Linked DNA regions of Homo sapiens: region 2 is linked to region 1. The links are contacts of gene promoters, found by promoter capture Hi-C in blood cells and fetal thymus (Javierre and others, 2016). All regions are on one chromosome and are shown on one strand. The core of a region is centred on a gene start or on the middle of the fragment in contact, and the rest is flanking DNA. Distances in the headings are between cores, read along the strand shown.

The links. Contacts are between HindIII fragments. The CHiCAGO score rates a contact against its expected background, and 5 or more counts as called.
Region 2: a contact is called between the fragment with the promoter of CHTF8 here and the fragment with the promoter of DYNC1LI2 in region 1, in 1 of 17 cell types (total B cells). The highest score is 5.1, in total B cells.

The regions. Positions count from the first base shown.
Region 1 is chr16:66,749,270-66,753,026 of GRCh38, forward strand. DYNC1LI2 (dynein cytoplasmic 1 light intermediate chain 2) reads right to left here and starts at 2,340. Exons shown (of 13, transcript NM_006141.3): 1 at 2,216-2,340; 2 at 2,004-2,077; 3 at 1-44. The coding sequence starts at 2,322. It overlaps DYNC1LI2-DT (DYNC1LI2 divergent transcript), which reads left to right and starts at 2,483. Exons shown (of 2, transcript NR_133569.1): 1 at 2,483-3,631; 2 at 3,727-3,757. RefSeq lists a silencer at 1,968-2,767 and an enhancer at 1,981-2,696. The HindIII fragment of the contact is 3,643 bases long and covers 1-3,269 here.
Region 2 is chr16:69,131,164-69,134,932 of GRCh38, forward strand. CHTF8 (chromosome transmission fidelity factor 8) reads right to left here and starts at 1,425. Exons shown (of 4, transcript NM_001039690.5): 1 at 1,321-1,425. It overlaps DERPC (DERPC proline and glycine rich nuclear protein), which reads right to left and starts at 1,425. Exons shown (of 3, transcript NM_001002847.4): 1 at 1,321-1,425. UTP4 (UTP4 small subunit processome component) reads left to right here and starts at 1,486. Exons shown (of 17, transcript NM_032830.3): 1 at 1,486-1,526; 2 at 2,295-2,455. The coding sequence starts at 2,297. RefSeq lists silencers at 1,005-1,154, 1,175-1,534. The HindIII fragment of the contact is 3,017 bases long and covers 1-2,514 here.

The sequences.
Region 1 (3,757 bases), core at 1,090-3,589:
TTGTAGTTTAGTCATGAGGGTTGTTTTACCAGAACCATCTTCACCTACAAAGGATGTTTGCAAGACAAAGGTGTACTGTTTATTCCGGGCAAGGATGGGGAGGCATGACACTCACATGACACGGAGAAACTAAGAATTTCATGCAAAGTCTGCTGTTGAAGTCTCACCTGCTTTCATAAACAAAGGACTTTGCTGGAAGAGTGGTTGGGAGGGTGGGGAGGAGAGGGTGGTAAAGGCAGCAAATTCCAAGATCTAAAATGACATTCTACTGCAGTTATCCTTACTTCAAAAGGGAAATAATGAGGCAGGTCCACAGGCCCTATCTATAATTTATAAGACATGCATTCGGAGAAGTGAAAGTAAAAGGTAGGGTTAGTTTCTCACAAGAAAAAGTTTCACCACAAGAAAAACAAGAAATCTTCAAAATATGATACAATTAACCTAAAAGTCCAGGTACTGTGAACTAAAAAAAGTCTGATCCTGCTTCACAATGGTGAAGAATGGAAGTTATTCACTTTTGATTTTAGTACATCTCCTTCACAAACATTCTGAAGGCTAAGAAACTGACGAAAATAATTATAGACCTAGCAAAACTCTTCAGTACAATCTCAGTTAATTATTAAGCACTTCTTCATCTCCCTCCACCCAAACAACACCCCCCTTCCCCGGATCCTTAAACATCAAGGAGAACCATCGCCAAACATTACTAGGCACTTCTGCCATTTAATAATATGGAATTACAGAACATGAGAATTGAAAGGCAGTCAGTCCACAGATCAAAGACCTCCTCTCCATCTCCAATGCCTCTACCTTATTCAGGCCCTCTGCATCCAGACCAAGGTGAGGACCTGTCAGCCTGACTTCAGTACCTGCTCATTTTGAGCTACTGTCCCTCTGCAGGCAGCGTTCTTTCTAAAACTCAGATCTGGTGATCTTGATCCCCCACTTCTTGAAGATCTCTAAGGGTCCGGTATTACCTACCACAGTCAATTCCTGAGAAAGGTCACACATTCTAACAGTAGGAAAACTACCAAGGCAGTGATTCCCATGGGAATTGGGGGATGGAGGTGAGATAAAAGCCATTTGAAAAATCAGAGAACTTCAGGAAACAGCACTAACTCTTCAGCCTTCCCACAATCTGCCCCCAACTTACCTTAGCAGCCACCAACCACAAGGCGCTTCTAGCAGTTTCCAAACCCCACACCCTCTTGTCATCTGTGTCCCTGCATACTGACACTTTTCTGCAAAATACTCAACCCCCGAATCATCCTCCTTCACCAGCTCTAAGCAGTGTAATGCTTCCACAATAATCGGCATGGTGCAATGCAATCACCAATACATCTGTCTTCCACCAGACTGAGATTCTTCTATAGTGTTTAAGAGTCGCCTATGCTGAGCCTGTGCCCAGCCCACAGGTCCCAAGCAACAAATGGACTTGCTGTGTGAATGTACCCAAACTCCCTCACTTGAGGAGAGTGAGGCCAGAGGGAGTAAGGGACCTGACTCAGGTAACCTAGCAGTGAGGGCTAGCATAATGGAGGAAACGTCCCCAGTGCTGACTCTCTGTCCTCTGCAAAGTCCCTAAAACCTCGGACTATGCACTACTGATGAGGCTCAAAGAAGGCTCCCGTGGTCATTTCCCCACAGCTCCGAGCCCAGGTCACCTCGTTCTCCCACCTTCTCCACCTAATCTCATCTACTAGCTTCCCCTCTCCACGACCTCAATTTGGTAACCGTCGAGGCAATGAAGGCATAGAGGGCCAAGTGACTGAAACAATATGCCGACAACCCCAAAGCACCACTACGCTCTCCAAAGAGGGCAGCATCCCACCCTCAGGCGCTGGAGGCTTGACCACTCTCCAGCTGACCGGCCAGGGCCGACGGTCCCTTTCCCGCCAGGCTGCGGGCAGGCGGCTGGAACGGGGAAGGCGGGGACCTGAGGGAGGGGCGCCCGCCTCGCCCACCCCAGCGACCTGGGGCAACGCCCCGCCGCCGGCGCTCACCGAAGACCAGGATGTTCTTGCCGGACGGCAGCTTGGACCTGGCGCGGGTGGACACTTCGCTCAGAATGGAGGACCTGTGGCGACAATGGCAAGAGTGGTCAGCCCCGGGCCGGGCTGGGATGGCCCGGCTCGCGTCGGCCCCTCAGTGTGTCCGACGGTCCGGCCCAGAGGCCGCGCCCCCCACGGCCCGGCCCGACCGCCCGCGGCCTCACCATAGGCTCTGGCCTTCCTCCTCCTCACTGGTCAGGTCGCCGGCGGCCGCCACCGCGGGCCCGTTGGGACCTAGCAGCAGCTTCTTCTCCACCCCCACCGGCGCCATCTTGCCAACTGCAGCCACAAAGAGGGCCCTCCCCCGGGCCCGCCGAGGACCCGCGAGGACCCGGGCCGGGCCGCCCCCCGCTCGCCGTCCCTCGCGCCGCGCCGCCCGCCGACCTTGCCGCGGCGACTGCGCCGCCCAACGTGTCCTCTAGGTCTGCGATGGCCACGGGCTCCCACGGGTTGCGAGGCCGCCGAGGTGGCGGGCGGCGGTCAGGCAGCCGCCGGGGCAGCCATGCGCGGGGAGGCGGTGGCAGGGGCGGGCACCGTCCGGACCGAGGGCGCGCTGGCGGCCTCTGCCGGCTGAGGGGCGCAGCGCAGCACCCCGCCACGCTCGCCGATTCCCCTGCGCCGTCGCGGGTCGGGCAGCCGGATGACCGACCCGAAAGCCTAGGCTTTGGGAATGAGACTGATGGACACAAAAGCGCCATTTATCTAGAGCTCACCATGTGCCAGAGTCACACATTATCTCACTGAATCTTATCTAACCCTTTCACAGATGAGGAACCTGAAGCTCAAAAAATTTAAGAAACCCACCCAAGGACCCAAGGCTAGAAGATAACATTCGGTACTTCTAATTTATTCCCCAACCTTGGACCATTATATCATGAACTTGGCCTAACCCTACTCAAGCCCTGCATTGAAAGACTAGCCTTAAGGAAGACCCCAGAATCCTCATAAATATCCTGCATTTCCCCCTCCTCCTCCGAAGACTAAAGACTGTGAAGTAGTGCTCTTGACCGCAGTGCATAATACACTTGGCTTTGCTTTATTAACATGCTTTTTAAAATGATGTTTTCAGGGAGCCAGCATTTCACACCAGAAGAGGAGCCCTTAATTTCCTTGGGGGCCAGCTGGCAGGTGCAGAGCGGGGAGAAAAATAAAAGGAAAGGGGATGGAAAAGGGAAAGAGCGGAGAGTAACCGAAGGAAAAACATACATTCCATTATCAAGCTTAATTTTAGGTGTGGCCTCTACTTGAGGGCTCTTGCCATTCTCTATGGAAACAGGCTAACAAGACATTTCTAAATATCACAAGGAAGTGGAATGTGGCAGAAAAGCACCACCTAAGTAGGTTTCAGATGAGTAGGATTGTGATCCTGATGCCAAAAAATCTGGCGGCATGAATTACGGGATAAAACAAATGGGCATATCATCTGCCAAACTGGATGTAAGGTTTAAACAAGACGAGAGTGAAAACCCACTGAGTTCCTCCCTTGGAAATCTGGGAAAATCAGGCAAAGTGCCAGAAGTCCTAAAAGGGCAAGCAGTGCTGAATTTTCACAGGACAGAAGATGGAGATGAAAATTACAGGCCAGTGAGCTTAATCAGCACTAAGTGAAATTTTGTGATTAAACACTAAAGGAAAAGAGAATACCAGATTTACACAGTATCTTTCTTTTTTGCAGGAGTACCAGGTAGGCGGATGCTGCAGATACA
Region 2 (3,769 bases), core at 175-2,674, 2.4 Mb after region 1:
GAGGGTTGGTGGAATTGAATGCTTCCAAACTTTACATTAGTGAAGTGTGTTCAAAAACGTGTGTGGATGCTATGCATACACGTGATACTTCCCATCACATTTTAGGATTCCCACGTTGGAGGGAATCAATTACTGGTATTTGTAGCAATGGGTGGAAAAGATGGCTTCAGTCGATCTGAGTTACTGCAGTTTTCTCCATCTTCTGCTACTCTGCAGCCCCATCTTAGCCTGTCCTCCTCTTAATGGTACGGCCCCCTGTACTCCCCCAAACCCTTTCCTTTCTAGCCCGGCGTAGAGTCTCCCTCTGTGCTCTTCCTCCCACCCACCCCCATCTTCTCCACCCACTCCCTCTCGGCCCCCTCCCACCCTTTCTGCTAGAGCTACAAACACTTCCTATTTCTAGTCCCACCCACTTTCTGGGACTTCTCAATCCGCTTCCCCCCTCTTCTCCACCCCCCTCCAAATTACAAGCTGTTTTAACCCCTTTTCCTGCCTCCCAGGGAAACTATTCTTTAAACCGCCTTCCTCCACACCACCCACTGGAGTGGTCTTCCAAACCGTTCACCCTCTTCCCAAAGATTACTCTTTAAACGTCCTTTCTCTACCACCCTCGTTCTCCAAATTGTTCCCGGTTCTCAAGTACTCCACTCCTCCAGGACCCCACCCCACTCGTCTCTCGGCTTCCCTCCCACAAAAGAACCTGGAATGACTCTCCAACCACCCTTCCAATTACCTCTCCCAGAAGCCTCCCCCCTCCACGATTACAAATGTTACCTGGAACAAAACCTCACGGTCCTAACCCCCACCCCGAACTCCCCTTTCTGCTCTTCCCGCTACTTCCTAGGTTCCAGTTCTACTCCGCTCCCGCAAGCATAGCGGGCTGGGCTCCCTCCCAACCCCGGGAAGAGCCCCTTCCCGCACGTACCTCGAGATTCCGGCCCTCGCCGCCCCCTTCTCCGTCCTCCGCCCGCGCTCGGCCACCCTTTCCGCCCTTCTCCCGCTCCGCCCCGCTCGCTCCCTTCCTTCCCTCCGCCTTCCGTCTCCACACCGCTCCCTTCCCCCACACTCCTGGCCCTCCCACCCCGGAGGCCCCTCCGGGCTTGCCCCCACCTCCGCGCCGCCCTCCCGCCGCCCTCCCCCTTCCCGGCCACCCCTCCCCCGCCCGCGCTCCCCGCCCCTCGGCTCGCCATTCTTCTCTCCGAGCCGCGCGCCCCGCCCGGCCCCGGCTCCCTAGCTTCCCGCTCCCTCGCGCCCTCGCCCCCAATCCCGGCTCGGCCCTCGCTCCCCGCAGCCTCCCGTGCCCCCCGCCCGCGGCCTGACCTGCAATGGCGGCCGCCGAGCGCGGCGCCGCGCGGCCAACGGGCGACAACCGAACCTCCCGCCGCCGTCGCCGCCGCCGCGAGCACTGCCTGCGCACTTCCGACTATGCGCCAGGAGCACTTCCGGGGCAGAGCCTGAGAGCGCGCGCGCACGTGGGGCCGGGGCGGAGAGAGGCGAGCACCGGGAAGGGGAGCGTGGGGCCGCTGGTGAGTTGGGGAAGGGGCGTGGGAAGCGGCTGCGAGAGCTGGGGGGGTCTTACAAGGTGGCCGGCCCAGGGTCGGCGTCCGGCTGAGCTCCTTGTCCCGAGGGTCTCCTTGTCCCGAGGCGGGGTGGGGGCTACTCTGTAGACTCGGGGAGAGGGAAGGGGAGGCGAAGACCGCGCGCGCCTCAGACGCCCCGGCCCGACCGAACGCGCTTGCTCTGTCTGCGGGTTCCTAACCTTGAAGCTAGGCCAGTGAGGGGCGAACAAGACCTGGTCTCTACTCTCGGCCAGTATATATGTTGGCGGGCGTCGGGGGGACGGGGTAGGGTAAGTGACAGACGTCAGACCAGGCAGCCAGATTAAGTCAAACCCTGTCGTTTCTTCCTCAAGAGGAGCTCGGTTCTGCCTGCCCCATCAGCCTCACTGTCACTACCTCAGTTTAGGTCTGTTGTTTGCAAACTTAGCAATAGAGTTGAGGAGAGATGCTTGCTAAAATGCGGATTCCTAGGCGCCCCGAGATAGGAACTCTGGAGCTATGGAGTAGGACCCTTTTTGATTTTTTGCTGAAGCCTCCTTATTATTCAAGCCATTCTGAGCTTTTGAAGATTGAGTAATTCTTGTGGGGGGCATTGTTAGCAGCCATTTGGAAATGAACTTCAGGGAGATGTTGTTGGAGCCTTCCAGCCAGAACAGTGATATTAAGGAACTGAATACTATATGTGACATACTGCAGTTAACATATAGCAATAATGACTCTCTTTTCGCCCCCTAGGAATGGGTGAATTTAAGGTCCATCGAGTACGTTTCTTTAATTATGTTCCATCAGGAATCCGCTGTGTGGCTTACAATAACCAGTCAAACAGATTGGCTGTTTCACGAACAGATGGCACTGTGGAAATTTATAACTTGTCAGCAAACTACTTTCAGGAGAAAGTAAGTCATTTGGGAGTCTGATATGGTGTTTTGATGTTAATTTCTTCTGAAGTTCAAGAAGCTTGTATGTCTTTTATAATCAAACTGATTGAGTGACTTCCTAGCCCCTCTGAAGTTGCTTAGAACTACCAAACTTCTGAGATCTCCTAACTGATAAGAGAAGCTCAGTTTCAATCTGTGTAATGTTGATTAGAAGGGTCCTACCTAGAAATGTGACATCTCACTGCCTGTCATTGGAAACTGAGGTTTGCTGGATCTTTTGGACACAGGAAGGGAAATTGTTGGTATATCAGTCTCAACACCATTGCAGCTTTGGTAAGCAAAATTTCCTGCAGGGAGTATCAGTACTGTTTCATTGTCAATTCAGAAAAAATGATAACACGTTTTAATATCAGAAACTTTTTGGTGATGTGGGAAGATGGATTCCAAAGTTCATCTGTCTGAGAGAATGTAGACCTACATGTCTACATTTGGGAGTAAAGGAGATTTAAAATTAGGTAAAATGTCCTTTGGGTGTATGCAGAGGTCTATTAGTCCTTTTTCTTCTCCCCTCCAAGGGCACTGACTAGTGATTTTCTTCGGGTGCAACATCTTAGTTCATGTTGAATGACTGTTATGTACTGGGTGCTGTGATATAAATGAGTAGATGGGCAAATGAGTGAATTCAGTGCCCAGCAGCCTGGTACCTGGAATTTAGGCATTCTGTAAATGTTTCTCGGTGAATGAGTGGCAAATACTGGGCACTAAGACAAATGTCAGAGGCCCTAACTTTACGGAGCTCAAAGACCAGTGGGAGAAAGATAAGTGTACAGTTTCCAACCTGTAAAATAAATATGATAAACCGAAACACAGGCATAGAACCTTCATTGAATTGCCTTCAGGGAAGGCAATTCAGAGAATTGCCTTCCCTGAGAGGTGGGTTTAGGAAATGTGGAAAGGGATGATTTACTGAGCTCACCCCTGAAGAACTAATCAAAAGGTAAAAACTACAGGACCACCACAAATGGGTTACATTCTGTGGTATGAAGAACATGCGCTGGCGTGTGCTTATTGCATCCTGTGATTTTCTTTTTTTTTCTTTTTCTTTTTTTTTTTTTTTTTGGAGACGGAGTCTTGCTCTGTCACCCAGGCTGGAGTGCAGTGGCGTGATCTTGGCTCACTGCAACCTCTGCCTCCCTCTCCTGCCTCAGCCTTCCAAGTCGCTGGGATTACAGGTGTGCCACCATGCCTCGCTAATTTTTTTATTTTCATAGAGACGAGGTTTCACCATGTTGGCCAGCCTGGTCTCGAACTCCTGACCTCAAGTGATCTGCC